Linked DNA regions of Homo sapiens: all the other regions are linked to region 1. The links are contacts of gene promoters, found by promoter capture Hi-C in blood cells and fetal thymus (Javierre and others, 2016). All regions are on one chromosome and are shown on one strand. The core of a region is centred on a gene start or on the middle of the fragment in contact, and the rest is flanking DNA. Distances in the headings are between cores, read along the strand shown.

What was found. Contacts are between HindIII fragments. The CHiCAGO score rates a contact against its expected background, and 5 or more counts as called.
Region 2: a fragment that was not itself captured here is called in contact with the fragment with the promoter of EXOC7 in region 1 in 2 of 17 cell types (activated CD4 T cells and M2 macrophages); the score reaches 6.0 in activated CD4 T cells.
Region 3: a contact is called between a fragment that was not itself captured here and the fragment with the promoter of EXOC7 in region 1, in 13 of 17 cell types (M1 macrophages, M2 macrophages, M0 macrophages and 10 more). The highest score is 13.2, in M1 macrophages.
Region 4: a contact is called between the fragment with the promoter of TRIM47 here and the fragment with the promoter of EXOC7 in region 1, in 14 of 17 cell types (non-activated CD4 T cells, erythroblasts, naive CD8 T cells and 11 more). The highest score is 11.5, in non-activated CD4 T cells.
Region 5: a fragment that was not itself captured here is called in contact with the fragment with the promoter of EXOC7 in region 1 in 7 of 17 cell types (M1 macrophages, M2 macrophages, M0 macrophages and 4 more); the score reaches 8.5 in M1 macrophages.
Region 6: a fragment that was not itself captured here is called in contact with the fragment with the promoter of EXOC7 in region 1 in 3 of 17 cell types (endothelial precursors, erythroblasts and M1 macrophages); the score reaches 6.4 in endothelial precursors.
Region 7: a fragment that was not itself captured here is called in contact with the fragment with the promoter of EXOC7 in region 1 in 17 of 17 cell types (activated CD4 T cells, naive CD8 T cells, naive CD4 T cells and 14 more); the score reaches 22.2 in activated CD4 T cells.

The regions. Positions count from the first base shown.
Region 1 is chr17:76,101,249-76,105,591 of GRCh38, forward strand. EXOC7 (exocyst complex component 7) reads right to left here and starts at 2,539. Exons shown (of 19, transcript NM_001013839.4): 1 at 2,385-2,539; 2 at 2,113-2,178; 3 at 431-615; 4 at 23-128. The coding sequence starts at 2,444. The HindIII fragment of the contact is 3,319 bases long and covers 1-3,310 here.
Region 2 is chr17:76,345,874-76,350,216 of GRCh38, forward strand. It overlaps PRPSAP1 (phosphoribosyl pyrophosphate synthetase associated protein 1), which reads right to left. Exons shown (of 10, transcript NM_002766.3): 2 at 2,656-2,708. It also overlaps the pseudogene HMGN2P43. Among named protein-coding and RNA genes, the nearest start is that of PRPSAP1, 5.9 kb to the right of the region's middle. The HindIII fragment of the contact is 8,373 bases long and covers 1-4,343 here.
Region 3 is chr17:76,327,635-76,331,977 of GRCh38, forward strand. PRPSAP1 (phosphoribosyl pyrophosphate synthetase associated protein 1) reads right to left here. Exons shown (of 10, transcript NM_002766.3): 5 at 2,917-3,032; 6 at 2,409-2,464; 7 at 1,083-1,228. Among named protein-coding and RNA genes, the nearest start is that of QRICH2, 22 kb to the left of the region's middle. The HindIII fragment of the contact is 3,381 bases long and covers 109-3,489 here.
Region 4 is chr17:75,877,331-75,881,673 of GRCh38, forward strand. It overlaps TRIM47 (tripartite motif containing 47), which reads right to left and starts at 1,251. Exons shown (of 6, transcript NM_033452.3): 1 at 544-1,251. The coding sequence starts at 1,218. It also overlaps a transcript of TRIM65 not described here. RefSeq lists enhancers at 1-625, 626-1,541 and silencers at 386-565, 576-955, 1,086-1,435. The HindIII fragment of the contact is 18,500 bases long and covers 1-4,343 here.
Region 5 is chr17:76,310,878-76,315,220 of GRCh38, forward strand. It overlaps PRPSAP1 (phosphoribosyl pyrophosphate synthetase associated protein 1), which reads right to left. Exons shown (of 10, transcript NM_002766.3): 8 at 2,944-3,014; 9 at 1,993-2,139; 10 at 1-823. The coding sequence ends at 665. It also overlaps a transcript of QRICH2 not described here. Among named protein-coding and RNA genes, the nearest start is that of QRICH2, 4.8 kb to the left of the region's middle. The HindIII fragment of the contact is 2,725 bases long and covers 892-3,616 here.
Region 6 is chr17:75,898,238-75,902,580 of GRCh38, forward strand. MRPL38 (mitochondrial ribosomal protein L38) reads right to left here. Exons shown (of 9, transcript NM_032478.4): 3 at 3,783-3,917; 4 at 3,475-3,683; 5 at 2,964-3,036; 6 at 2,745-2,790; 7 at 1,279-1,437; 8 at 921-1,057; 9 at 407-749. The coding sequence ends at 613. Among named protein-coding and RNA genes, the nearest start is that of TRIM65, 3.5 kb to the left of the region's middle. The HindIII fragment of the contact is 3,542 bases long and covers 848-4,343 here.
Region 7 is chr17:76,291,549-76,295,891 of GRCh38, forward strand. QRICH2 (glutamine rich 2) reads right to left here. Exons shown (of 19, transcript NM_001388453.1): 4 at 1-2,473. Among named protein-coding and RNA genes, the nearest start is that of QRICH2, 15 kb to the right of the region's middle. The HindIII fragment of the contact is 473 bases long and covers 2,136-2,608 here.

The DNA of each region.
Region 1 (4,343 bases), core at 1,289-3,788:
CGTTATTCTGCGGACCCCTTACCACTTTGTTGAGTTCCGGGCTGTCTGGGCTGTTGTCCTGGAAATACTCCACTGCCTTCTGAATCTTGGCCATGCTTCCCAGGTACTCTTCCAGCCTACCTGTGGGGCTGGGAAAGAAAAGAGCCAGGTCAGGCTGGGGCATGGGGGATGAAGAAGGACTAAGGACACAGTATTTGGGAAAAAGAAAATTAATACAGGGGACTCCAGGCTCAAATATATTCTATCCCCCCACTGCCTTTTAAGGCCTAGGGCTTAAAAGGCGTCTCACTGTGTTGTCCAGACTGGTCTTGAACTCCTAGTCTCAAGCGATCCTCCCACCTCAGCCTCCCAAATTGTTGGGATTACAGACCAACCCTCCTGTTGGCCCAGGAGGCATTAGGAATTGACCCTCTGGGCCTCACTCACTCACCCCTCTCTGATGATCTTCTCAGTGTCACTGGCCACATGGTAGTAGCTGATGACATGGTCCAGGCAGGACAGCGTCTTCTCAACATTCTCCTGCAGCCGCTGCAGATTCTCCGTCTGCTTGTGCACAGGGATGATGGAGTTCTCCAGCTTCATAAGGCGGCTCTCAAAGGATGATAAGATAGACACCTGCGGGAGGGAAGCCTCTTGATCTTGGGACTCACAGTGGTCCCAGCACTGCTTCTACACACCCACCTTCGGCATTTCCTGCCTTTTCTCTGGTTTTCTAGACAATAAACTCCACAAGCGAAGGAACAGGGTGTACCTGTTCCCCACTGTATCTTCAGCACCTATCATGTGCCTGGCATATAGTAGGTGGTCTAAGACAAATTGGTTGAAATTTTATTTGAAGGCAAACCAAGCATCAAATTAATTCTTCTTAAAATAATCAGCCCAAGATGGCTTCCCTTCCACCCTTTGAAGCCAAATCTCAACTTCTGTTCTCTCTGAAGCATTCCTAAACCGGACTGGAAGTAGTTTCATACAGAGTAGCCTCAAATGCATTGCTGTATCTTCAAAACCCTCTCTAAGGATGAAACTCATTGAATAAGGACTAGAGGCTGGGCGTGATGGTTCATGCCTGTAATACCCAGAATTTGGGAGGCTGAGGCGGGAGGTTAGCTTGAGACTAGGAGTTCAAGACAAGCCTGGACAACACAGTGAGACCCTGTCTACACACACAGACACACACACACACACACACACACACACACACACACACAATTAGCAAGGCGTGGTGGTGTGTGCCTACAGTCCCAGCTGCTAGGAGGCCGAGGCAGGAGGACTGCCTGAGCCCAGGAGTTAGAGACTGCAGTGAGCTACAGTCATGCCACTGCACTCTAGCCTGCACAACACAGCCAGACTCTGCCTCTAAAAAAAAAAATTTAAAAATTAAAATTTTTAGAAAAGGACTAGGACTTTATTATTGTGTGACTAAATGCAAATACAAGTTTGTATTTACTCACTTTGTGCTTTTCCAGTCTCCCCTAGGAATAAAGAAGGAAACTCACTTATTGAGCACCTATTGTATACCAGGCACTGTGCAAGATGCAGTCGCATGCATTAGCGCATATGACCTTCACAGACACACTGGGAGGCTGGCACAGTCTCTGTTTTAGCAGATGAATTCGCTGACACCAGTTACCTATCAGGAGCCGCACATTTAAGCAGAAGGGCAAGGACTAGATCCCAGATCTGCCTGACTTTAGAGCTCTTTCTTTCCCTAAAGTCCTCTGGAGTGAAGGCTGAGTCTTCTCTGCCCTCAGGAATCTCAAAGTGCCAACCTCCTGGGCAGAGAGTCCACTGACAATGACATATGCCCAGTACCTAGCCCAACTGGTCAGACTCACTGAGTGTTTGCAGAAGGAGAGAAGGAAGAATGGCGAGCTTAGACAGAAAGCAGCAAGTCCAGGCCAGTGGGAAGTGCAGCCTCCTCAGTGAGGGTACGGAACATGGGGAGGGGGCTAGGCAGGAGAGATGCCAAACTGTTGCTAGATAAACCCACACACTGCCTCCGTCGCTGCCCATTCCAGAACTCCAGGCCGCAGGAACCGGAACCGCCAGGTCGCAAGGCTCTCCCCCAGGGTCCGGAGGCCTGCCCTCTCCCCCAGCTGCGGGGAGACTCACCATGTTCTTAGTGAGCTGGTCGCTCTTCTCCAGGCTGTCTCGGATGAAGGACAGAGTCTCCTCCTCCTGGGGGCAGGCAAGGGGAGGACATCACCAGAAACCAGAAGCTAAAGGAGACCACTGCGTCCCAACCCCACGGCCTAGCCCCCAACCCCATCTCCTCGCTGGGTGCGCTCCCTCCCACCCCTGCCTCCTCCATGAGTAGACAATCAGGCCCCGCTGTTGGCCCCTTTCCCTCACCTCCTCCCCAGCCTCCCCAGGCCCACGCCCACCTGCTTCAGCTTGTCCTCAATCTCCCGCCGTCGAGCGGATGCCTCCTGTGGGGGAATCATCGCTCTGAACCCCGCGGCTCCCACTCCCCAGTATCTTTCCTCCGCGGGCCCACCGGGCCCCCGTCCCCGTCACACCCACTTCCGCTCTTGGTCCCGCCCCGGGACGCCTGGGCGGAGCCATGTTGGGAATCGCAGGCTGAAGTGCGCCTGCGCGGAGCCCAAGAACGGACCGACGGCCATTTTGAGCGTGGCTGGGAAGAGAAGTGTATTCGGATGCTGCAAGGGACCTCGACGCGGGTTCCTTGCCTCAGCAGAGGTTTTCGATCGGCCTTATGTCCCGCGGCTGGCAGGACACTTAGAGCTCACTTGCTGTTTTCGTTGAAAGACCGACCCTTTTGATAAAGACTGCTGGGGAAGGCGACGAATTCCTTTCCCCAGGTCGCATTCTATGGGCAGGCACCAAGGCCAATTGCGTTTCCCACAAAGCCCCGCACGGAGCAGGTGACACAGTAGATGCCTAACGTGTGTCCATGTAATGAACCAGGGGCTTGTGTACTTGTTTCCGCCTTCCACCCTGCATTACGCAAAAACGTATCCTGTGGGCTGGCGGGGCTGCTCCGGAGCTCCAGGCCCAGACCCAGCGTCCAACTGCAGCTCCAGGGGACGGGGTGGGGGGCGCCCCTGGATCAACTTCCCTGCGGGGCTGGATGTTGTGGTTGCAGACCCAGCTCCTGCAAAACCTCGAGTTACTCCTTCCTCTAACCCGTCCCTGCCCACCCTGCCTCTGGCCCCCAGCCTTGAGAAAGGACAAGGCCGACCAGCTTGGTTCAGTCCTTCTGTGGCCTCAGTGTCCAGACACCCGGAAGATAGACAAGGAGGCATGTGCTGGTAGATGAGAAGGTTTGGGGCGGGCAGGGGGGACACCAAGCTTTTTTTTTCCTTTCTTTTCTTTTGAGAGAGAGTCTCACTCTGTCGCCCAGGCTGGAGTGCAAGTGGCACGATCTTGGCTCATTGCAGTCTCTGCCTCCCGGGTTCAAGTGATTCTCGTGCCTCAGCGTCCCGAGTAGCTGGGATTACAGGCGGCTGCCAACACGCCCGGCTAATTTTTTTGTATTATTAGTAGAGACAGGGTTTCGCCATGTTGCCCAGGCTAGTCTCGAACTCCTGACCTCAAGTGATCCACCCGCCTTGGCCTTCCAAAGTCCTGAGATTACAGGCGTGAGCCCCTGCTCCCGGCCTAAGGAGAGAAGGAGAGAAGGAAGAACCCAAGCTCTAGGGTTCCCAAGCGCTCACTCCACCCATAGTCACCCGAAGAGGAGGAGGAGGAGGAAGTGGGTGCACAGAGCCTGGAGAGGGATGGGCAGCCTTCCCTCAGGCAAGAGGACAATTTCAATCCTGTTGTAGGTGGGGGAGATAAAAGGCTGATTCCTGTGTCAGGAAATACCCAGGATGATTTCGCTGACATGGTCCTTGTGTAGTCCAAAGGGCTAAGTAGGAGAAAGTTTAAACTGTTAGATGTCACAGAATAGAGTAGCGGGGCTAGTTAGCCGCTGTAGAGAGGGTGTTTTGGGCTCAGGTGGACTACCTTTGAGGGCCTGGTCCAGCATTTAACCTGAGTCTCTCTCTCTCTCTCTTTTTTTTTTCTTGAGACGGAGTCTTGCTGTGTTGCCCAGGCTCGAGTGCAATGGCGTGATCTCGCCTCACTGCAACTTCTGCCTCCCGGGTTCAAGCGATTCTCCTGCCTCAGCCTCTCGAGTAGCTGGGATTACAGGCATGGGCCACCACCCTGGCTAATTTTGTATTTTTAGTAGAGATGGGGTTTCTCCATGTTGGTCAGGCTAGTCTTGAACTCCCAACCTCAGTTGATCCGCCCGCCTCGGCCTCCCAAAGTGCTGGGATTACAGGTGTGAGCCACCGTGCTTGGCCTGAGTCTCTAAACAGTTCCTGGCCCATAGTAGA
Region 2 (4,343 bases), core at 614-3,113, 240 kb after region 1:
GATGAGGCCAAGGTGAAAGACGAACCACAGAGAAGATCTGTGAGGCTGTCTGCTAAACCTGCTCCTCCCTCCAAAGCCAGAGCCCAGGCCTAAAAAGGCCACTGCAAAGAAGGGAGAGAAGGTACCCAAGGGAAAAAGGAAAAAGCTGACACTGGCGAGGAGGGGAATGACTCTATGGGAAGTGGAGATGCCTGAACACACCAGGCACCTGCTGGAGATGCTGAGGGAAGCGTGTGCATTTTGGATAACTGTGTACTTCTGGTGACTGTACAGTTTGAAATACTATTTTTTATCAAGTTTTATAAAAACGCAGAATTTTTGTTTTCTAAGCTATGTTGTTAGCACACAGAACGCTTCATTGTTGTTCTGGGGAAAGGAGCATATGTCATGAATAGAATGTCTCCGAAGCTGGATTGATGTGGGGAAAGCACCTTTCCCTTCTAGTTTTGAGAGACTTCCTCTCGGCTCCCAGGAAGAGGGGCTCCCTGACTTTGACACACATGGCCACCTCAGCACACAAAAGCCTTGTGCTCTGAAAAGACAAATTTGTTTCTATGTCCTCTTCTCCCTTTCCACCTTTCAGCATGGACTTAAATCCCTTAAAGCCAGACATCTGTTGGCACCTGACCCCCCCATAATTGATTACCAGTGTGGCAGGCAATCTGGACCTTCCAGTGATGCCACTGAGATGGCGCCCCTCAAAAGAGCAGTAGTTCCGTTTCTAGACTGTGGATCTTCAGATAAACTCTGCCATATTCATTTCACTTCCGGAAAGTCAGGGTCAGCTTGTGAAAAGTTGTTAAACAACATGCTAAATGTTCACTGGGTTTTACAGTGGCTTTCTGATTTTTGGTTGTGCACTGAAAAAGGGAGTTTGGCCGGGCGCGGTGGCTCCGCCTGTAATCCCAGCACTTTGGGAGGCTGAGGCAGGAGAATTGCTCGAACCTGGGAGGCAGAGGCTGCAGTAAGCTGAGATTGCACCACTGCACTCCAGCCCGGGCGACATCCTTATTATTTTTTCAACAAATGCTGAAGCCTCCTCCATGTCAGGAACTGTACTGGGAACCCCAAAATGCAGGACTTGGAAGAAGGGACAAAGACTGACCCAGGAGAGATGATACAACAACAAGGCCAGCAAACCCTCCGGGCCCAATATGCCAGAGACGCTAGCCATGACGAAGGAGAAAGAACAATGGGGCTGGAAAAAAGGGCCTCACTGCAATCCAGAACGAGCAGCGCAGAAGGGGGTTTGGGAACATGGGAAGATGTGGGATCCGAGTGTGCCAAGCAGAGGGGCAGGCAGTTAGTCCACTTAGAAAGCAGACAGAGTGGGCCGGGCGCGGTGGCTCATGCCTGTAATCCCAACACTTTGGGAGGCCAAGACGGGTGGATCACCTGAGGTCAGGAGTTCAAGACCAGCCTGACCAACATGGCAAAACCCCCGTCTCTGCTAAAAATACAAAATTAGCCGGGTTTGGTGGCGTATGCCTGTAATCCCAGCTACTTGGGAGGCTGAGGCAAGAGGATTGCTTGAACCTGGGAGGTGGAGGTTGCAGTGAGCCAAGATCATGCCACTGCACTCCAGCCTGGGTGACAGAGCAAGACTCCGTCAAAAAAAAAAAAAAAAAAAAAAAAAAAAGAAAGCAGACAGAGTGAGGGGAAAGAGAGAGACAGGAGGTCAGGGAGCCAAGGGGCCAGGACTTGCAGGACTCTGGATTTCATTTCTTACTCGCTGAAGAGTCTGGAATTTATTCTAGCAGTGACAGGAAAGCCACTGGAAGATTTAAGGTTGGGAAGGGTTTCATCTACTTGTTTTAAAAAGACTGCTGGCTACTGTGTGAAGAAAACCGTGGCAGGGCAGGAGTGGCCACGGGGAGGCCATGGCGTCTGTTTTGGAAGGTGTCTAGCAAGCAGCAAACGGCAGGCTGGACTTAAGTGGGAGCAGCAGAGGTTGTGAGAAAGGGTCAGATATAAGATGTATTCCAAAGTCAGAGCACACAAGATGTGGTAATGGGTGGATCAAAGATGAGGCAGGTAAAGGGGTAGAATCTGGATTCCCAAAGGGCCCCATGTGATTGCTAAAAAGACTGGACCCCAGCCTACAGGGTAGGAGTAAGGAAGCAGTAGTAAGAAAAAATATTTGCATTTTAGAAATAACGTGGTGGAAGCCGAGTGCGGTGGCTCACGCCTGTAATCCCAGCACTTTGGGAAGCTGCGGTGGGAAGACTGCTTGAGCTCAGAAGTTCAAGACCAGCCTGGCCAACATAGTGAGACCCCATCTTAATAAAAATAAATAAATAAATAAATAAATAAATAAAGGCTGGGCACAGTGGTCATGCCTGTAATCCTAGCACTTTGGGAGGCCGAGGCAATAGGGTCCCCTGAGGTCAGGAGTTTGAGACCAGCCTGGCCAACAGGGTGAAACCCCATCTCTACTAAAAATACAAAAATTAGCCGGGTGTGGTGGCGGGCGTCTGTAATCCCAGCTACTCAGCAGGCTGAGGCAGGAGAATTGCTTGAACCTGGGAGGCAGAGGTTGCAGTGAGCCAAGATCATGCCACTGCACTCCAGCCTGGGCGACAGAGTGAGGCTCTGTCTCAAAAAAACTAAATAAATAAAAAATAATTTTAAAAAAAAGAAATAATTTTAACTTACCTCCATTGGTCTCTTGATATACAACAGACTTCCCCAATTCAGCACCAAGGCGCCTATAGATCAAAAAGAACAAAAAAGGGAAATTAAGATTACTCTTTTTAAAAAAATTCCAGTTCATATGCATATGTCTAATAAAAAGACTCAAATAATTAAGCTGCCATTCTTTCCAAAAAATAATTCAGAAAATCTAATTCATTAAACTAAAATTCTGCTGTCACTCCATAAGCAGCTCACCACGTTGTAACATACTGCTTTACCAGACAGAGCTCACAACCCATGGTTAATGTCTGGTGCGCGTTGTTCTTTGAATAGTAATTTTCTTGGAAAATCACTTCCAAATACTTGGTTACAAGCAATGATTTCAATAACACACACCAGAGATAAATGCCTCAATTATCAAAAGCATAGAGAAGGAAAGAGGCTTCAGCACTCTGACCAAATGTGGTGTGGATCTTGTTTGGATCCTAATTAGAATAAACCAAGTGTAAAAAGCCATTTTTGGCCAGGCGTGGTGGCTGATGCCTGTAATCCCAGCACTTTGGGAGGCCAAGGCGGGCGGATCACCTGAGGTCGGGAGTTTGAGACCAGCCTGACCAACATGGAGAAACCCCGTCTAAAATACAAAATCAGCTGGGCATGGTGGAGCATGCCTGTAATCTCAGCTACTAGGGAGGCTGAGGCAGGAGAATTGCTTGAACCCGGGAGGCGGAGGTTGTGGTGAGCCGAGATCGCGCCATTGCACTCCCGCCTGGGTAACAAGAGCAAAACTCCGTCTCAAAAAAAAAAAAAGCCATTTTAAAAAATAATCAGAGAAATATGGACAAAGACTAGATACTACATAATATTAAGGAATTAATAGTAGTGTGAGGTTTTAAGTCCTGATTAGTAAGCATTACTCTTTTTACAAGTGAAATGATATGATGTAAGATAATCTATTTAAAAATATTCCAGGCCGGGTGCGGTGGCTCACGTCTGCAATCCCAGCACTTTGGGAAGCTGAGGTGGGCGGATCACCTGAGGTCAGGAGTTCGAGACCAGCCTAACTAATATAATAAAACCCCATCTCTACTAAAAATACAAAAATTAGCTGGGTGTGGTGGCGAGCGTCTATAATCCCAGCTACTCAGGAGGCTGAGACAGGAGAATTGCCAGAATCCAGGAGGCAGAGGTTGCCGTGAGCCGAGATCACACCATCGCACTCCAGCCTCGGCAACAGGAGCGAAACTCCATCTCAAAAAATAATAATAAAAAAAATAAAATTAACATCTCCAGCCAGGCCAGGCGCAGTGGTTCATGCTTGTAATCTCAGCATTTTGGGAGGCCAAGGTGGGCAGAACACTTGAGGCCAGGAGTTCGAGACCCGCCTGGGCAACATGGAAAAACCCCATCTCTACTAAAAACACAAAAATTAGCTGGGTGTGGTGGTGGGCACCTGTAATCCCAGTTACTTGGGAGCTGAGGCACGAGAATCACTTGAACCTGGGAGGCGGGGGCTGCAGTGAGCCAAGATTGTGCCACTGCACTCCAGCCTGGGTGACTTTATCTCAAAAAAAAAAAACAACAAAACTCCAGCCAGGTATACACATACAATGGAATATTATTTGGCCTTAAAAAAAGAATAAATTCTGCAGCCAGGCGCAGTGGCTCATGCCTGTAATCCCAGCACTTTGGGAGGCCGAGGCGGGCGG
Region 3 (4,343 bases), core at 549-3,048, 230 kb after region 1:
GAGTGAGACTCCATCTCAAAATAAATAAATAAGTAAAAATAAAAGTTACCTGATCCCCAAAGCCTGGTATTTGATCAACAGCTGTCACCCAGCTTATGATAATGTAAAAGCTTAAGATTTCACACCATCACACATACAACTTTTTTACTGAAGCTAAAATTATCAAACACCGTCTGAATGCTGAGTGCTACGCAGAACCGTCCATACACAGTCTACAAATGTGTATAACACAACTTCCTTTTACAAAAGAGGAAATCGGGCCTGGCATGGGGCTCATGTCTGTAATCTTATGTAATCTCGGCATTTTGGGAGACCATGACAGGAGGATTGTTTGAGCAAAGAAGTTCAAAACCAGCCTGGGCAATGCAGGGAGCCCCGTCTCCATACAAAAAGAAAAAAAAAGGAACAGAAAACTATCCAGGCATGGTAGTGTACCCCTACAGTCCCAGCTACCCAGGAGGCGGAGGTGGGAGAATCACTTGCGCCCCGGTCAAGGCTGCAGTGAGCCATGACTGTGCCACTGTACAGAGCAACAGGGGGAGATCCTTTCTCAAAAAAAAAAAAAAAAAGGCGGAGGATAGCAAATACCATTCCATTATTAAAAAACAACAAGACAGCATATATCTACATAGTCGATAACTCCTAGCCATTCATACTACTTAAAACTTTCTTCAGGGCCAGGTGCAGTGGCTCATGCCTGTAATCCCAGCACTCTGGGAGGCTGAGGCGAGCAGATCACCAGGTCTGGAGCAGATCACGAGGTCTGGAGTTTGAGACCAGCCTGGCCAACATGGTGAAACCCTGTCTCTACTAAAAATACAAAAATTAGCTGGGCGTGGTGGCACACACCTGTAATCTTTGCCACTCACGAGGCTGAGGCAGGAGAATTGCTTGAACCCAGGAGGCAGAGGTTGCAGTCAGCCAAGATCACGCCACTGCACTCTAGCCTGGGTGACAGAGTGAGACTCCATCTCAAAAACAAAACAAAACAAAACAAAACAACAACAACAAAACCAACAAAACCAACAAAAAAAAACTTTCTTCAATTTACAAATAAAATAAAAACACAGAGCTCATCTTACATGGCAACTCCAGGCCTGGGTGCACAGTAGCATTTTTGACCATAGGCGGGGAGTGACGACCATCGTCCATGTCCAGTTCCGTGCACTGAGCTTCCCCGTGAATGACGGCCAAACCCAGACGCAGTCTCTCCGCATAGGACTGGGCCCTAGAAGGACAAAGGGAAATGGTGAAACTGACAGGAAGAAATCCCACGCATCACTACGGCATCATTTTTTAACCATAAAATGAAAATATTTAACGTTTCAGGGACATACAAAGGCATTATTTATATAAATGAGAATGTGAGGCCCAGGCCAGCATGTAAATGACTCAAAGGGCACGTGAGTTAGGGTTTGGGATTGTATCTGATTCTAGACATTTTTTTTTTTTTTTGAGACAAGGTCTCACTGTCACCCAGGCTGGAGTGCAGTGGCGTCAACATGGCTCACTGCAGCCTCAACCTCCTGAGGCTCAGGTGATCCTCCCACCTCAACCTCCCGAGTAGCGGGGACCACAGGCATGTGTTGCCACAACTGGCTATTTTTTGTATTTTGTAGAGACGGGGTCTATGTTGCCCAGGCTGGTCTTGAACCCCTGGGCTCAAGCGATCTCCCGCTTTGGCCTCCCAAAGTGCTGGAATTACAGGCGTGAGCCACCCCGCCTGGCCCTGATTCTAGATAATTTTGATTCTATCCTTTGTCCAATATTCTGATAGTCATCTTCAGAAGAAAGAACAACGTTAAAAACCATTGCCTGGGCCGGGCACAGTGGCTTACGCCTGTAAACCCAGCACTTTGGGAGACCAAGGCAGACAGATCACTTGAGGTCAGGAGTTCAAGACTAGTCTGATGAACATGGTGAAACCCCATCTCTACTAAAAATACAAAAAACTAGCCAGGAGTGGTGACAGGCGCCTGTAATCCCAGCTACTGGGGAGGCTGAGGCAGGAGAGCTGCTTGAACCCAGGAGGCGGAGGTTGCAGTGAGCCGAGATCGCGCCATTGCACTCCAGCCTAGGTGACAGAATGAAACTCCATTTCAAAAAAAAAACAAAAAAAAAAACCATTGCTTGAAAAATGCTCATAGCCTCATTGCTTTCCTTTCTCTGAGAACTTGAAGGAACTTTGTTTTCCCAGAGGAAAGCTGAGCAACTCAGCGATCATGTGTGCTGTCTGGAGGCTGGAGATAAAGCTGTGTGTGGCATGGGACATGACAACGATGGAGGGGTTAACATGAGAGCCAGTGGGCTTTCAAAGGCCACGAGTGACAGCCTCTGGATTCCAAAGCAGCTCATTCTGACTTCGGGAGCACTCAGGAGGGATCAGGACCCATGTCTAGCTTACTTACCTCTTTGCAGCATCAGGAGACTTAGCTACAATGACTGCATTTCTGTAATTTGGAATCTAGATTTGAAGGAAAAATAGAAAATACTGAAAAGTTATCAGAAAATAACACCTGGATGCTGGTATTCAAGTTTTCCCTCTTATAATGATCCAAACTAGTCATCAAATATGCTAGAATTTTAGTCACAAGTTTTAGATTTTTCAATATTTATCAATTAACATCACTGGAAAAAGCACTCCTACGTCAAGAATTTTTTAAAAATAATTCTTAAAACATTCATTTTAGAAAACATAAGCAAATTGCTAAAGATACGTAGAAAAAAAATCTGTTTTTAGTGTCTTTTAAAGCTATGATCGTCCACGACTAAAGCTGACCCTGTCTGCTGCCTCAGGCATTGTGACTTAAGGGAGAGCTCATTTGATGTGCCTTCCAGTAACGAAATCTGATACCAGAGAAAAACTAAATAAGATCTCTTTTGAGGACAATGGGGTGTTTGCTGGTGGTTCCTCACTTCTTCCTGGATATACTGAAGCAGGAAAGGTGAGGCTCTAAGGTTGTCCACAGGAAAGCTGAAAAAGCCTTGTATTTCCTTTTGATGAAGATCCATAGTGATAATGTGAGTTAAACCTGAAATTTTAAAACAAAAAATTACAAAGTTCACCCCTACAGGTAAATGGCTACAGTGGACCTAAACTAGATGCTCAACTCCTGCTTCCTACCAGCAGACTGAAGACGGGGTACTGTGATTAAGCACTGCAGTCACAGGCTTGATTGTTAACCTTAATAAAGCCTTAATGTAGAGAAGGCTACAACCTTCCACATGGACAAAGAACTAAAGCTAAGAAAGTGGGAATTATTGACTTTTGGCTTGGTCCAGAAAATTGAGAAAAGAATAATGTGGCAGAAGCAAAAATATGAATATGGAATTAATACCGAAGAGATGGAAAAAACAGTAAGGCCTTGATTACAGAATCTTAAAAGAAAGGATAAAGAACTGTAGCGAAGGCAAAAAGTAGCAAGAACACAAACGCAAAGTAATATACATATTAGAAGAAAAGAAACTCATATAACACAAAGATATTGAAGCTTAGAATAATTTCTGTATGTAACAAAGAATGTTTCAAGTATTCTTATAGAAAAACAATGAAGAGATACTCTTATAATCAAGAGTACTGAAGAGGAAAAGGTACATATATATAAACACATTGCAAATGGTCAAAGGTCACAGCAAAACTTCCAGGGTGTAGAACCAGTATTACTTGTTCTTTCCAGAAACACTATAGTTTTTTGGAGAGGATGAAATTCACATACAGTTGACCATCTGGATCTATGGGTTCCACGTGTGGATTCAACGAAACACAGACTGAAAAGGTAGTTAGGCCTACAATGGTTGTGTCTGTACTGAGCAGGTATGAAACTTTTTTCTCATCATTATTCCCTAAACAAGACAGCATAACAACAATTTATATAGTGTTTATATGGTATTAGGTATTTATAAATAATCTACAGATGACTGTGTTGGTTATATGCAAATACTATGGCATTTTATATGGAAGACTTGAGTATCTTTGGGTTTTTGTATCTGCTGAGGAGCCGGGGAAGCGGGAGATGGGTTCCTGGAACCAATCCTATAAGGACATTGAGGGAGGACCATACATTTCTTTCCGAGGACCCAAATATACGTTAAAGTTTTAGAACAGACATCAGATGAATAGAAACCCAATTGTAAAATATTACATTGATTTACAGGCCAGAAAGCGTGCCCCCGCCACACAAGGAGAATAAAGCAATGAAAATGAGCCACTATGTAGAAAGGCAAGGGTGGGGGAGAGGGAGTAAAAGAAAATCCAGCTTGAATACTATGAACAAAAATGGAATTTAGCTAACAAAGCAGATATAGAAATCTAGACCTGAAGATCAAAAGATCACATAAGAATG
Region 4 (4,343 bases), core at 1-2,500, 230 kb before region 1:
CAGAGGCGCCAAGACCGGGCTGGAGGCCAAAGGAAACTGGGGGCGGGAGGTAGAGGCCGCGGCTCACATGCTCCCACCACTGGCCCCCGGAACAGCTGGACAGAGAATCTGTGTGCCCGGTCGCCCTCTGCCGCCCTCCTGCCGCCTGCCACACCCATCGAAAGCTGCTGCCTCAGCCCAGGGCAAATCTGAGCTGAGACCGGCGTGACCCTCCGGGCGGGAGCAGCAGCCACGCTACCGGAACCCCGCGGGCCTAACCCGGCTCCCTCCCGCCTACACCCCCATAGACCCCGGCCCGGCTTCAGGTCCCCTGCCCGCTCTTCGCGTCCTTGTCCTGTTCTCACGTCCCTCCTTCCTCCCTTCCCATCTCCATCACCGCCAGCAGATGACCTTGTCAAGGCTGGAAGGGACCGCAAAGATCCTCAGGTTAGAGGAGGAGATTAAGACCCAACCCGGGAAGACTGGGGGGTCCAAGGTCCTCGGCCCGCTCGCGCGCGGTCGGTCACCAGCCCCGGCTCACCCGAGTGTGCCCCCGGAGCCCACCTCCTGAAGCGCGCGCTCCTGCTCCAGCGGCACCAGCTCGTGGCCGCGGTGCTCCTGTGCGGCGCAGGCCTCGCACAGACACACGCGCTCCGCGCGGCAGTAGCGCTCGAGCGGCCGTAGGTGGCGCGGGCACAGGCTCTCCTCTAGCCGGCGCAGCGGCGGCACCAGGCGGTGTCCGCGGAGGGCGGGGCTGCGCTCGTGCGGGCCCAGGTGCGCGGGGCAAAAGGAGGCGAGGCAGGAGAGGCAGGACAGCGCGGCGGGCAGGGCCGCGCCCTCGGGGCACGCGTCGCAGCGCACTGGCTCTTCGCCCGCGGGCCACGGCTCGGGAGCGCAGGGGGCCGACGGCTCCGGGACACTGGGCAGCGCGCTGGGTGCCGAGGGCTCCGGGGCCAGGGCAGGGGCCGGGCCGGGGCCGGACCCGGGGCCCGAGCCCTGGCGGAGCTGCAGCAGCTCGGACAGCGTGTGGTTCTTGCGGAGCTGAAGGCCGTCGGGGAAGGGCTCCTGGCACAGCGGGCAGCGGGCCGCGCCTCCGGGTCCGCCGGCTCCACTCGCGCCACGATGCGGCCAGAGCGCGCCCAGGCAGGCGAGACAGAAGTTGTGGCCGCAGGGCAGCGTCACCGGCTCCCGGAGTGGCTCTAGGCAGATGGGGCAGCTGAAGGGTCCACTGCCGTCCATGACTCCGCGGCCGCCCAGGGCGCCGCCGATTGTGCTCCGGCCTGGGAGGGACCCGGGCCGTTCGCGCCGCGGCACCTCCCCCTGGGACCTAGGCCAGGGCTCCGGCCCCCGCCCGCCCCCAGCTCGGCCCGCCCCGCAGCACCGCCCGCCTGCGGGCCCGCGGACTCCCAGTCCCCGCCCAGACAACGCAGGGAGGCCTCCGAGCCCGCGCGACCCCCAGGGGAGTCCGCGTGGTCCTAAGGAAGGGCGCTGCTGAAAGGGTGTGAAACTGAGTGAGCGCGGGCGGAGAACGCGAGAGGTACAGTGGAAGGAATGGGAAGGACTCAGCCTCCATCCCTCTGGTCCTTCTGGGCCAGGCCAGCGCTCCGCAGGGGCTGGGCGCGTCTAGCTGTGTCATGCCTGCACCTTTGCGCTCGACCCCTCCCTGGCACCCTTAGCAAAGTTCCTGAGCTGCTGACTGCAGAGAAAAATAACTGCTGATGTACATATGTTTTTGCCCCTTAGCGACTCTTTTTTTTTTTTTTTTTGAGACAGAGTTCCTCTCTTGTCGCCCAGGCTGGAGTGCAGGGGCGCTATCTCGGCTCACTGCAACCTCCGCCTCCCGGATTCAAGTGATTCTCCTGCCTTAGCCTCCCAAGTAGCTGGAATTATAGGCGCTTGCCACCACACCAGGCAAATTTTTGTATTTTTTTGTAGAGACGGAGTTTCACCTTGTCCAGGCTGGTCTTGAACTCGTGACCTCAGGTGATCCACCTGCCTCGGCCTCCCAAAGTGCTGGGATTACAGGCGTGAGCCACAGCGCCCAGCTCCTTTAGCGACTCTTTACCCCAAGTAGGGAACTTGGACTTTTCTAGACCTGAAATGGGAAGTTGACGTCATTCCCTAAGTCCCTTGTCTGAGGAATGTAGTTCTGGCCCCTGGACACTGGGGACACCTGTGGTGGGGTTGGGGGTTCCCCAACTGGAAGTATTTAAAGCTCATCTAATTATGCACTTAAAGTGGTGCGTTTTATTGTATGAGTTATATCTCAATAATGTTAAGTTAAAACACTACACCAGAATGACAACAAAATAAGTAAAGTAGCACTGATTATAACCCAAAGTGTAAAATAAACATCTATGAGTCCATGCCGATATAAATAAATAATAAATTAACAAGCTGGGGAGAACAGACATATTTCGCATTGAAAATTCCAAATAATGTTTTTTTATTTTTATTTTTTTAGATGGAGTTTCGCTCTTGTCGCCCAGGCTGGAGTGCAGTGGCGCAATCTCAGCTCACTGCAACCTCTGTCTCCTGGGTTCAAGCGATTCTCCCTCCTCGGACTCTTGAGTAGCTGGGATTACAGGCGCCCGCCACCACATTTGGCTAATTTTTGTATTTTTAGTAGAGACGGGGTTTCACCATGTTGGCCAAGCTGGTCTCGAACTGCTGACTTCAGGTGATCCACCCGCCTCGGCCTCCCAAAGTGCTGGGATTACAGACATGAGCCACCGCACCCAGAGATATCTGTAATTTTGGTTAGTGACAAAGTCACAGGTAACTGCTCATACCACTCTGGTGTATTCTCTCCATTTGGAATAGAAAGAAATGCTGTGTTTCAGTAAGGTGCTGCAGCGTGGCTTCCTTCTGCAGGATCTGAGGGAGACTCTGTCCTGGGCGTCTGTCCCAGCTTCTGGTACTGGCTGGCAATTCTTGGCGTTCCTTGGCTTGTAGCTGTAAGATGCGCTCTAATATCAGTCTCTGTTGTCATTTGCCTTTTCTCTGTGTCTGTGTTCAAATGTCCTTTTTTTTTTTTTTTTTAGGGAGTCTTGCTCTGTTGCCCACTCAAACTGCTGGGCTCGAGTAATCTGCCTGCCTCAGCCTCCCAAAGTGCTAGGATTACAGGCGTGAGCCACTGTGCCCGGTGCCCATTTCCTCTTATCAGGACACCAGTTGTTGGATTAGGGCACGCTCTACTCCAGTATGCCCTCATCTTAACTCAGTCACATCTGAAAATACTCTATTTCCAAATAAGGTCACAGCCACAGGTCCTGGGGGTTAGGATCCGAATACGTCTTTTTCAGGGAACAGGATTCAACCTATAACAGTGCATAAGTAAGGAAATGTTGGAGAGAGGCCCAGGCCCAAATGTGCTAGAGGTCATGCATGTCCCCCGGTGTTCCTGGCCCTCTCTGTGTTCCAGGACCCTGGCCCTTCCCTAAACCTCAGCACACACTGCTGCTTGTCCCACACCCAAACCCTTGTCCACCTCTCCCACCGGGTCTGCATTCCTGCCTCTGTTTCCCCAGCTCTCTAGGCTTGGGGGGTGGGAAAATACCCTCAGGTCCCCTGAGACCAGACTAGAAATGTTCAGAAGGCACTTCATGAGTTCAGAGCTAAAGAGGAGAAAACACAAGCAAAAGAGCACAAATGTGCCGGGTGTGGTGGCTCACGCCTGGAATCCCAGGACTTTGGGAGGCTGAGGCGGGCGGATCACTTGAGGTCACGAGTTCCAGACCAGCCTGGTTAACATGGCGAAACCCCATCTCTACTAAAAATACAAAAAAATTAGCCGGGCGTGGTGGTGCACACACTTGTATTCCCAGCTACTCGGGAGTCTGAGGCAGGAGAATCGCTTGAACCAAGGAGGCAGAGGTTGTGCCACTGTACTCTCCAGCCTCGGTGACACAGCGAGACTCCATCTCAAAAAAAAAAAAAAAAAAAAAAGAAAAGAAAAGAAGAAAGAAAGAAGGAGGGACCCAGCCTCTTGGGGAGGGAGCTGGCTCTCCAGGCACTCAGGAACCCCTGTCTTAGTGTGTCTGGGCTGCTATCCCAGAACACCAGAGACTGGGTGGCTTATACACAACAGACACTCCTCACAGTTCTGGAGGCTGGAAGTCTGCGATCACGGTGACAGCACAGTCAGGGTTCCAGTGAGAGCTGCTTCCTGGGTTGTAGATGGCTGCCTTCCCACTGTGTCCTCACATGGCCAAGAGACAGCCAGAGAGCCTTTGGGGCCCCTTGGACAAGGGCACTCATGCCATGAATGAGGCTCCGCCCACCTGAAGACCCCACCTCCTAGGACCATCACCTTAGGGGTCAGGATCTCAACACATCAATTCTGAGGGTACACACACATTCAG
Region 5 (4,343 bases), core at 1,004-3,503, 210 kb after region 1:
CCTGACTGCTGTTCTGTATCCATGGTCTTCTGCTGTCTAATGAAAAGACTAGCAAGACAACAAATTATTTTATTTGCAACTTCAGAGCCACTCAGATACCCAGAGGTGGGATGCTATTTTCTAATCTGACATCCTTGGAAGATGTAACAACATGAATGCTTCATTTTTCAATGGCTGTAGGCATAACAATTTCTGAAAGAAAAATACGATTCTCTATAAAAGACTTGAAGTTGATTTGGGAGAGGCCAACTGGATAGTAATAGGGCCACAGGCGCTCAGCTTCCCTAACCAGGTTCAACATCAATACCTCCATTTCCCTGGAGCTGAAACAACTAAATGAACATTATAGAGTTAAGACTTTATGTGCCTTTAACTCCTCTTTAGTATCAATAAGATTTTCAGATTATTTTTAAGAAAGCAGCTAGAACTTTTAAGGAACAGGGCTGATGACAGCAGACATGTAAGGCCATGTTATGATATTTATCCATTAGCTCTGTCTTCTTCCTGACTCTTTTAATCCCTCCTCCCCATCAATCCGGGCAAAAGAAGATATCTAACTCCAGGCTGTTTCGAGTCCTCCCTTGCAAGGAAACACTGTATCACTCATGGCACTGCTTTTTCCATGTTTCCCTCAGGAGGTCCAGGGTCGAGACCCTCGTGAAAGCTAGTCATCCACAGTGATGTTTCGGAAAAGGTAGGCCATGGACTCTCCATTGTGGATTCTCCGAATGGCTTCAGAAAGAATCAAACTGATATCCACAGTCTTTATCTTGGGACATTGCAGCTTCTGAACCTCATGAGGGACAGTATTCGTCACCACCACCTAGTCACACAGTGATGGAAAACAAACGCTGTTACTGAAGTCTGTTCTCCAAGCTGGTTACACAGAAAAGCTTATCTAACATTGAGTTCCCACAGCCTAAGTTCCAAACTACAAAACCTTGTTCCACCGAGTATAGTTTTTATAAACCAAAATTAACTAATTTTATGCAAAGGAAAAGTTACATGGCCTCAGAACACAAGACAAAAATCTTAGGAATGGCATGGTCTCCATGCAGAAACACAGTGAGCCCCAGTGCTATGCAAAACTCTCAGATCATAAGGGAAGAATTCCAGCCTCAAGAGAAATGCTCCTAGGGTGTCAAATTAAAGTACCCAAGCAAACCGTTATGCAAATAGACATATACAGACCCTCAACATAACTCTCAACTTATGACAGGGTTATGTCTGGATAAACGCATCATTATAAGTTGAAAATATTTTAAGTAGAAAATGCATTTAGGCCGGGCACAGTGGCTCATGCTTGTAATCCTAGCACTTTGGGAGGCCGAGGCAGGTGGATCACCTGAGGTCAGGAGTTTGAGACCAGCCTGGCCAACATGGTGAAACCCCGTTTCTAAGAAAAACACAAAAATTAGGCCTGGTGGCCGGCGCGTGTAATCCCAGTTACTTGGGAGACTGAGACAGGAGAATCGTTTGAACCCGGGAGGCAGAGGTTGCAGTGAGCCGAGATTGCCACACTGCACTCCCAGCCTAGGCAACAGAGCAAGATTCCATCTCAAAAAAAAAAAAAAGCATTTAATACGCCTAACCTACTAAACATCATTAACTTGGCCTAGCCCTACCTTAAACATGCCCAGAACAGTTACATTAGACTGCAGGTGGCAAAATCATCTAGGGCAAAGGCTTTCATTTTATAATAAAAGCGATTATTTTAAAATAAAGTGTCTCAAGTAATTTATCGAATACTATACATTACATCGTAATTGCAATGGTTTTGCATCATCATAAAGTCAAAAACTTCTAAGTTGAACCATGGTAAGTCGTGGACTATCTGTATTCCTAAACATGTATCTGTCCCAACGAACTGCTAGCCAGCAAAAGCTAGAAAAGCTATAGACAGATTAAGCAATTTAGTATTGACTGAATCATTTTATTATTCCCAGAAAACACAGCAGTAAATCTTGGCTCAAGATTTAGAAGCAGCCTGACCTCGTCTACGGAGGACTCCTCAATCAGGCGAGGGGCCTCTGCAGACAGGATGCCGTGGGTGGCCATAACATAGATCTTATAGGCGCCTCTCTCTTTCAGGATCTCCGCGGCAGCAACAAAACTCTCCACATCGTCAATAATGTCATCCTGGGAGGAGAACAGAGTGAGTTGGTAGGAAAGAAACACCCTCTAGCCCATACTGTCAATGCACACACCACTCTACTCTCTTCTGCACTCAGTTTCAGAGGATTTCTGATGGAAAATCAGAGCTGTGTGCCTGGGTCAAAGAACGAGCATCCAGAAATGGCAACAGAAGCACCTGACAGTACCTTGTGTGTCTGTCAGAGGCGGGCGCAGTCAAGCACCTGTGACATTACGGCTGGAGCTGAGGATTGCCAACACTCATTTTCCTGTCTCACGTTTCTGGTGAATCCCACATAGCCAGCGTTCCATTTATTTTTTTTTCAAATAGACTGTGACATGAGAAGAAAACTGAAATAAAGTGTGCTACTGCAAAGGACTCATGACCCACTAGCCAGCAGATATTTAGAGCTGGGAAAAAAAGTATGTCAACATGCAGAACGAGTCTGCACGGGGACACCCATTCTTACTTGTGAAAACGGAACAGCTCATCTTCAGTTCATCTTTCGGCCCTAACGCTCAAGCATGATTAGGTGAGCTGGTTTAAAGAACCTAGAATCCACATGATGAAGGTGAAGGTGCTGAATTTTCTCACGGGAGTACTGTGCTCATTTCCTATCTGTAGGTTATACTTTAATGTATGTTCACCTGGATACAGGTTTCTGCCACTTGGCACAAGGGAGTTTGGGTGAGAAAGGATACATGGATCCATTCGGATCATCGTTCCTAGAAATACAGTCCCAGAGTGGACAACCTACTGACCAAGAGCCAGGAGTGCCACCTCTGCACATGGATGACATATAACCATACCACGATGATTGCGATGCGGCCTCCAACATCTCCAACTACAGTTATCGGTGGCTTCTCTTTGGCCATCATCACTAGCAAAACAAAACAAATTACAAGATCTCAGTCATTCATGTATCACTAGAGAAATGTAATCACAACCTAATTCCCTGGAAATGGTGGCAAAACCACTATACAGACAAAAAACAAACAAACCATGCAAATTCCCCCTCAATGAACCTGCAATCTCTCAGAAACAGCAGCATTGGCCAAAAGAAATAGAAGGCATGCCATACATGTTACTTTGAATTTTCTAGTAGCCACATTAAAAACAGATGAAATTAATACATTTTATTTTATGCAATTCCCAAAATATTATAATTTCAACATGTAACTGATATAAAAATGTATGTATGTATGTATGTATGTATGTATTTTTTGAGACGGAGTTTTGCTCTTGTTGCCCAGGCTGGAGTGCAATGACGCGATCTTGGCTCACTGCAACCTCCGCCTCCCAGGTTCAAGCAATTCTGCCTCAGCCTCCCGAGTAGCTGGGATTATAGGCATGCGCCACCACACCCAGCTGAGTTTTGTATTTTTAGTAGAGATGGGGTTTCTCCACGTTGGTCAGGCTGGTCTCGAACTCCTGACCTCAGGTGATCCACCCGCCTCAGCCTCCCAAAGTGCTGGGATTACAAGCTTGAGCCACCACGCCCAACCTGATATAAAAATTAATGAGATGTTTTACACTTTTTTTTCTCAGAGGGGATCTTGCTATGTTGCCCCGGCTCATTTCAAACTGGAAGCAAACAATCCTCCTACCTCAGCCTCCCAAAGTGCTAGGATTATAGGCATGAGCCACCGCACCCAGCCTTACACTTTTTTCCTATCAAGTCTTCTCTACTTGGTGTGTGTTTTATACGCACAGCACTTCTCAGTTGAGACGGGCCGTGTCTCATGAGCTCAGCAGCCAGCACATTGCACTGCACAGCACAGCTGGAAAGACAACGAACCAGCAGAGCATGGAAGATTCTGCCAACACGGAGAAGCTGCACCGCAGTGCTGTGTGGATAGAAACCCCACTCTCACAGAGACTGACAGAGACATGCAGAAGGAATGCCGCTCTGCAGAAAGCGAAACAGCGAAAGGCTGCCAGATCATGAGATGGCTTTATGTTATTTTCTTCCAAAGTCACCTTATTTGGACAGTGTAACCTTACTATCAGATAACTGCACTACTGACATAATCAGAGTTTCCTCAAAATCAGGAACTTGAAGACAATAACTCCAGGCCCATCATCTTTTCCTGATTTAATTGGTGCTTAAAGTAGAGACTTTTATCTGACTGCAAAATCTGCATCTGAAGAAAGGCTATGAGTGTACAAAGGAAACTACAGGATAAAGAAAGGAAATAAGATTTTATCC
Region 6 (4,343 bases), core at 1,369-3,868, 200 kb before region 1:
GTGCTCAATAAATGCTCCTTCCTGAGCCCAGCTGCTCTGCTCCACTTTTTCGGGGAGCTGGGTTTCAGGAACCTGCTGGATTGGGATGTCTCCCTTCCCTGGGCCACACCTGTTTTTGGCCCACTGCCTGCTTTTGCTTCGGATCCCAGGGCCCCTGACACCCTCAGAAGACGGAGGTGAGGACGCACTTAGTGGGGTGGGAGGCAGCCCGTTTCCCACCCATGAAGCTCCATCGGGGTCCTCTGGCCCTGGAGCACCGACCCAGGCCAGCTATGGCAGAAATCCCTTTTTTTAAAAAATACAGGCAGGGTCTCATTATATTGCCAGCTGGTCTTGAACTCCTGGGCTCAAGCGACCCTCCCTTCTCAGCCTCCCAGTGTTGGAATTACAGGTGTGAGCCACCAAGCCCGGCAAGAAATCATGTTTATTCACATTCCCCACCCCACCACCTGAGAGTCACTTTCACTCCAAGCCCTGGGCCTGACGGGAGGGGGCCAAAGAGGGGGGCTGCCTAAGGCAGGGCCCAGACCCCACAGTGTGGGCCTCTGGAGCTGTGTCTTTACTCTTGCTGCCGATCAATCCCATGCTCTGAAATGCGCACACTCTGGCTCCTTAGTAGATGCCATAGGTGGGCTCATGACTGTCCCTGTACCGGTCCAGGTAGCGCAGGGGCTGCCGGTGGGGGAAGCGCTTCTGCTTGGGGTGGTAAGGGGGCGGCCGCACGAACTCAAACACCGGCTCCCGCATGTCTGCAAGAAGAGTGAGGGGTACGGGGTGGTCTGCTGGCCTGCGCCCCCTCAGGCTGAGGCCTGCCCACCAGGGACCTGCCGCAGCCTTCCCCTAACAAAGCTTCTCCCTGGCAGGGCAGGCGAGGCCTGGGAGCTCAGGCCCACCCAGTGCCCCAGCCCCATGGCCCTTACCCAGAAGCTGGTGGAAGATGTAGGTGACGGAGTCATCCCAGCGGCACTGGAAGAAGGACAAGCCGGCTGGAGTCATGGTTTCTTGGTGTTTCTTGTAGAAATCAAAAGTGCGGAAGGTCCGCTGGGCCAGCTGATAGCTATGAGAAGATAGAGAGCGTATGAGAGTGTGGAGTGGGGCACCAGAGCCCCTCACCCCGCCACCCCAACAGGTAACCCTGAGAGGCCCCTGGGAGTCTGCTAGCACCCTATCCTGCTCTTCTGCCAGTCTCAAGGCTGAGGTCAAGAGAGAACTGAGCAAGAGTGACCGTTCCAGGGGAGCTGGCCTGAGGCCGGGTTATGTGTGGGTGGTGTAGATTACCAGGGTGAGGGGCGTGCGTCCTCAGAGAAGTCAATCGGCTGGTCCTGCTTGAAGAGCAGGAAGGCAAGACGGTGGATGCCGGAGCCTCGGGCAGGGAAGGGGGGGAGGTAGGGACACGTCACCTGTCCTTCAGCCACCCGGTTACCCGGGATGTTGGTTCTGGGAGGAGGAAAGTCCCGGTTAATTACCACTCCAGGGAGGCAGCAGGAGTGTCCCCTCAGCTCCATGCACACCCTAGAGGCTGACATGACTCCCTGGGAGGACAGCTCTAAGCATCTCTCTCCTGGGACAGAGGAGGCAGCCAAGCTCTGTGAACGCCGGGACATGCTGCAAATACGGGAAGCGGGCTGGAGGAGCTCCGAGTGGGGGACAGGGCTCCAGAGAGCATCAGCTTGACAGCAAGGCCATGCAGCCGCTTCCAGGCCCCGGGAGCCGGTGGGTCCGCCACAGTCACTGAGGCTAGAAAGCCAGGCCACTTTTGGCTGCTTTTCCCTCTGCGTCCTGAAGTCTCCAGGACCTCGTCAGGGAGTGTGTGCCCAGCCTGGCACAGGGGCGGCCAACGCCTCAGGCACAAATCCCCAGAGGGTCCTGCCGCATAGGCTGGTAACAGTTGAATAAAAATGACGGAAACCAGCCTCCCAGTCACTGTCCCCAGTTAACCAGAAGGCTCAAAGTTGGGGTCACTGGCCTGACCTCTGCCCCCTGGCCTGGTGTTCAGAGCCAAAAGCTACCAAGATGGAAGGCCGCCCAGTCTGGGCCCAGGGAAGGAGCGCCCAGTGGTTCAAGGAGCACCTGGGGGACGCCACAGCTGCTAGGCCTCTCCCGCTCCTTCTCCCACGTGACTGTCACAGTCCACCTCACGCTGAGTAAGGCATGTGGTGCCATTATCCCAGTTTTACAGGTGAAGAAATGAGTTTAGAGACGAAGGGCCCAGGCATGGTGGCTCACGCTTATAATCCTAGCACTTTGGGAGGCGGAGGCGGGCAGATCGCTTGAGCTCAGGAGACCAGCCTGGGCAACATGGTGAAACCCTGTCTCTATAAAAAAATACAAAAATTAGCTGGGTGTAGTGGTTTGCACCTGTAGTCCCAGCTACTCAGGAGACTGAGGTGGGAAGAGCACCTGAGCCCAGGAGTTAGCGGCTGCAATTAGCCATGATTGCACCACTGTACTCCAGCCTGGGGGACAGAGTGAGACCCTGTCTCAAAAAAAAAAAAAAAAAAGAAAAGAAAAGATGAGGAGGCTTGTGGGGACTGACCGAGGCCTACTGCAAACTTTGTCTCCTGTAGCTGTCTTCAAGTAGACACGTGGATCCCAGGGCCCCTAACACCCTCAGGAGGCAGAGGTGGCAGGTGAATTCAAGGTCCCATGGGTAGTCCATGAAACTCAGGAGCAGCTCAGTCCAGGCTCCCAGCTCCTCTTCCCGCCTGGGCAGCACCCCCTACCCCCAGTACTCCAGTACTCACAGCAGCCAGTGGAGGTACTCAGCATCTGGCTCCAGCAGGTGCCCATCTGCACAAAAACACACCTGCTGACCACGGCCCAGCCGACCACGGCCCTGCCACCCCCTCCCTTGTTAGGAGCCAGCGCTGGAGATCTCCACCTGGCCCCTCCCCCAGCCCCCCAGGGCCCTGGCTCATAGGAGGTGAGCGGGGCAGGAGGCCTGGTGAGCCCCAGACACCCACCCAAGCTAGTGAGTAGCAACGTCCACAAGGAGCCCTCTTCTGCCTCATAGGTCACCTCTGGCGCTTGGGCAGCCTGGCAGGGTGAGAAGGAAGCTGTCAGCCCCACCAGGGACAGGCCAGCTGTTGCAGGGAGCCTTGGAGAAAGGGGTGCCCACTCTGACCCAAAAGCCCTTGACAACCCCTGGCACAGGCAGGCAGGCAAAGGGATGCGTAGAGAAGCAGCCCTGCAGAGTTGCCTGTCCAGGCAACAACCACAAAAACGAACATGTGCCAAGGCCGGGCCAGGAGGGCACACCACAGACAGCAGGCTGGTCACAGGAATGTGCTAAGACAGAGCCTCTTTTTCCTTCATTTTGTTCTATTTTCTTTGAAATTGTCATGGTGTCGTCTTCCAGGAAATCAAAGAGACAGAGAACAACAAAATTCCAAACCCAGGAGTGTCTGTGACACTGAGATGGGATGTGTCTGTGTTTGCACAGGGCAGGGAGGAGGGGCACAAGTGAGTGGTTACCTCGGTTGGAGTCACCTCATTGCCACAGTACACAGGCATCAGGTCATCCTCACCCACAGCGTAGGCCACGTGCAGGGGGACTCGGGGCACAAAGGTGGCACCGTGGAACAGGTCTCGGTAGAGGCCGTAATACTCAGCCAGACGCTGCTTGTGGTAGGGGCCACAGGTCCTCTCCCACTCGGCCCGCACGGCATCCAGCGGGACACTGGCTAGACAGGAATAAGGCCAGTTGGGATACGGGGGTGGGGGGGGCAGGGACACACCCTGTACCCCAACTCTGGGATGGCCCCTCCCCTGAGAAGGCTTACCTGTGCGGAGGCGGGCAGCCCGCTCCTCTTCCACATTGGCCCGAAGCTCCTGGATGGCCTGTTTCCGTTCCAGTAGCTGTTGGGTCCGGGAGACTTTGGGTGGAGGCAGCCCAATATCAATCTTCTCTTTGGGATCTGGAGTGGGAAGATGTGTGGGAAAAACAGGGTCATGACTCACTGCAGCCTTAACCTCCCCAACTCAGTCTCCTGAGTAGCTGGGGCTACAAGTGTACACCATCTCATCTGGCTAATTTTTGTATTTTTTGTAGAGACAGGGTTTTGCCACATTGCCCAGGCTGGTATGAACTCTTGGGCTCAAGTGATCTGCCTGCCTCAGCCTCCCACAGTGTTGGGATTACAGTAGTGTGAGCCACTGCGCCCAGCCATGGTAGCTAATTTAAAAAATCTGAGAGATGGGATCTCATTATGTTGCTCAGGCTGGTCTCAAAACTCCTGGTCTCAAGTGATCCTCCTGCCTCAGCCTCCTAAGTAGCTGGGATTATAGGCGCAAGCCACTGCACCCAGTGAGGGGGCGGGCACATCTTCTTGGTTAAACTGCCT
Region 7 (4,343 bases), core at 1,122-3,621, 190 kb after region 1:
TGTGCTGGTCTGTGCCAGGATGCATCAAACCTTGCTGATAAGTTTCTGGTGGTACCAAACTCCTTCGATCTATACCAGGTGATGCCAAACCTTGACTGGCTAGGAGTGGTGACACCTGGCCGTATTGTTCTCTGCCAGGAGGTACCATACCATGTTGATATGGACGTACTGATATAAAACCTGTAGAATCTGCCTGGAATGTTGAAGAGCCACGAAGCTTTGTGCCTGGTGCTATCAAGCCTGGCTGATATGCACCAGGTTGTCTCAAACCATACTGATCCATTCCTGGCTGCACCAGACCACGTGGATATGTCCCAGATTGAGATAAATCATGCAAATATGCACCAGGTTGTACCAAACCAAGAGGATAGGCACCAGGTTGTACCAGGCCATGTGGATCTGCCTGAGGTTGCACCATACCTTGCTGACCTATTCCAGGCTGCACCATACCCAGCTGACCTGCACCAGGCTGGACCAAACCAGGCTGATCTGCACCAGGTTGGATCAAACCACGCTGGTCCATTCCAGGTTGGACCAAACCACGCTGATCCACTCCAGGTTGCACCAAACCACGCTGATCCACTCCAGGTTGGACCAAACCACGCTGATCTGCACCAGGTTGGACCAAACCATGCTGAACTGCACCAGGTTGGACCAAACCACGCTGAACTGCACCAGGTTGAACCAAACCACGCTGATCCACTCCAGGTTGGACCAAACCACGCTGAACTGCACCAGGTTGCACCAAACCACGCTGAACTGCACCAGGTTGCACCAAACCACGCTGAACTATACCAGGTTGCACCAAACTACGCTGAACTTCACCAGGTTGTGCCAAACCATGCTGATCCACTCCAGGTTGGACCAAACCATGCTGATCTGCACCAGGTTGGACCAAACCACGCTGATCTGCACCAGGTGGGACCAAACCACGCTGATGATCTGCACGAGGTTGTGCCAAACCACGCTGATCTACTCCAGGTTGGACCAAACCATGCTGAACTGCACCAGGTTGAGCCAAATCACTCTGATCTGCACCAGATTGTACCAAACCATGCTGATCTGCACCAGGTTGCACCACATCAATCTGATCTGCACCAGGTTGGACCAAGCCAGGCTGATATGCACCAGGCTGCACCAAAGCACGCTGAAATCTGCCAGGTTGGACCATGCCAGGCTGATCTACACCAGGCTGTACCAAGACACCCTGACCTGTGCCAGATTGGACCAAATCATGCTGACCTGTGCCAGGCTGGATCAAACCATGCTGATCTCTACCAGGTTGGGCCAAACCAGACTGATCCATTCCAGGCCAGACCAAACCACGCTGATCTGCACCAGGTTGGGCCAAACCAGACTGATCCATTCCAGGCCGGACCAAACCACGCTGATCTGCACCAGGTTGGACCAAGCCAGGCTGATATGCACCACGCTGCACCAAAGCACGCTGAAATCTGCCAGACTGGATCAAATCATGCTGCTCTGTGCCAGGTTGTATGAAGCCAGTTGCTTCCAAACTGGGCTGCACAAAACCTTGCTGATCTGCACTAATTGGCATCAAACCAGGTGATACCAAACCATGCTGGTCTGTAAAAGGTAGAACCAGGCCATGTTGATCGACGACAGGCAATGTCAATCCTTGCTGGTCTATACCAGGGGGTACTAGTCCTTGCTGACCCATGCCTGATATTACACATCCACGCTGATCCATGCCAAGTGGTTCCATACTGCGTTGGTCTGTGCCAGGAAATGTCATACCATGCTGATATGCACTGACTGAAACCAGACCATGTTGGTCTGTGCTAGGTAGTTCCAATCCTTGCTGGTCTCTGCCAGGTACTGATGGTGGCAACATACGTTGCTCATCCACGACAAATGGTATCAATTCCCGATCATCCATTTCAGGTGGTGGCACACCAAGCTGACCCATGCTGAGGGGTACCACACCATGTGGGTAAGTGCTAGCAGGCACTAATCCAGGCTGATTCATGCCAGTTGGTTCTAACCCACGACGATCTGGCCTTAGATGGACCTGACTCTGGCTAGCGGGCACACTACTGGGCTGGTCTCTGGCCAAGGGTAAGTCCTGTTGAACTGGACCAGGACGTGCATTTCTTCTTGGTTGTGTCGAGGTAAGCTTCTCTCTACTCCTGTGACGATCTGAGTCTGATTTGAATTGGAATGTAGAAGACTGATGGAGTCGTGGCACGCCAGCTTCATCACGGGCCCTCGGCTGCTGCTGTCTCCCAGTACCAGAGGGGACCTTGCTTTGTTCCCTACTGGAAACCCCATCAGAGGGGTGTGCTGTGCCACCAGATCCTGATGCAGTCCGATCCGGGCCAAGACCACTGGCAGAATCCAGAGCCTGCTCAATACTTGGTTGCTTGGTAGAGTCTCCGCTTAGAGTCCCTTCAGGTGATGTTAAGGAAGTGAACCCTCCGTGCTTAGAAAATCCCATAAGTGTTTCTGAGCCCTGGTTGGAGAGGAAGAAGGAAATCAATAACAGTCAAAATATTCACTATCAGAGTGGGAAGAAAGGAAATCTGGAAGTTCTGACTAGGATGATTTAGGGCCCCTGGAGAAAAAAGCCCTCTGGTCCTAAAAGCTAAGCTTGACATAAAGAAACACACTGATGGGAGGCCGAGGCGGGTGGATTACTTGAGATCAGGAGTTCGAGACCAGCCTGACCAATATGGTGAAACCCTATCTCTACTAAAAATACAAAATTAGCCAGGCGTGGTGGCATGTGTCTGTAATCTCAGCTACTCAGGAAGCTGAGGCAGGAGAATTGCTTGAACCTGGGAGATGGAGGTTGCCGTGAGATTGTGCCATTGTGCTCCAGCCTGGGTGACAAGAGTGAAACTCCATCTCAAAAAAAAGAAAAGGAAAAGAAACACACTGACGTTCTGGGAGGCTAGGTCTCCATATTTTTGAGACTCTGCATATTTGAAAATGGCATGTACAAAAATATGTAATTTTTGTGGCCAGGTGCGGTGGCTTATGCTTATAGTCCCAGCACTTTGGGAGGCCAAGGCGGGTGGATCATTTGAGGTCAGGACTTTGAGACCTGCCTGGCCAACATGGCAAAACCCCATCTCTACTGAAAATACAAAAATTAGCTGGGTGTGATAGTGCATGCCTGTAATCCCAGCTACTCAGGAGACTGAGGCAGGAGAATCGCTTGAACCCGGGAGGTGGAGGTTGCAGTGAGCCGAGATTGCACCATTGCACTCCAGCCTGGGTGACAGAGTGAGACTCCTTCTCAAAAAAAAAAAAAAAAGTGTAATTTTTCTTCATAAAAGATGGGGAAAACTGCAAAATACAAGTGATCTCTCTGGACTTTTGCTTAGCCTTTAAATAAAGGACATAAGTAATTTATTAAGTTTAAAATATAAAGTCTGGGTCTGGCACGGTGGCTCATGCCTGTAATCCCAGCACTTTGGGAGGCCGAGGTGGGCAGATCACAAGGTCAAGAGATTGAGACCATCCTGGCCAACATGATGAAACCCCGTCTCTACTAAAAACAAATAAATAAATAAATAAATAAATAAATAAATAAAATTAGCTGGGTGTGGTGGCACGTGCCTGTCGTCCCAGCTACTTGGGAGGACAAGTCATGAGAATCGCCTGAACCCAGGAGGCAGAGGTTACAGTGAGCTGAGATCGCACCACTGCACTTCAGCCTGGGTGACAGAGCAAGACTCCATCTCAAAAAATAAATAAATAAAATAAAATAAAATATAAAGTTTGCTCCATTGTTGACCCATTGCTGCTGATAAAAGTGTATACTGGAATGCATGTAAACCATATATTTAAAATGTATAGGCTGGGCACAGTGGCTCACGCCTGTCATCCCAGCATTTTGGGAGACCAAGGCAGGTGGATCATTTGAGGTCAGGAGTTCAAGACCAGCTTGGCCAACATGGTGAAACCTGGTCTCTACTAAAAATATAAAATATTAGCCAGGTGTGGTACTGCACACCTGTAATCCCAGCTACTCAGGAGAATCACTTGAACCCAAAAGGCAGAGGATGCAGTGAGCCGAGATCACGCCACTGCACTCCAGCCTGTGCAACAGAGCGAGACACCATCTCAAAAAGAAATAAATAAATAAAATGTAAACATGCAAACCCATGGACCCAGAAACTCCATAGACAGGAATTTTCTCTATGAATCCTCACCAAAGGATGCCAAGCTATACATACAATGATGGGGTCTGCAGCATCTTGATAAAATAGATCATCAATAAGGGACTGAGATATTTCTGGTCACCAATACAGTAGATGCTATGAATCCATGAAAAAGAAGAATGAACCACTGCCATTTCCAGCCAAGATGAAGTT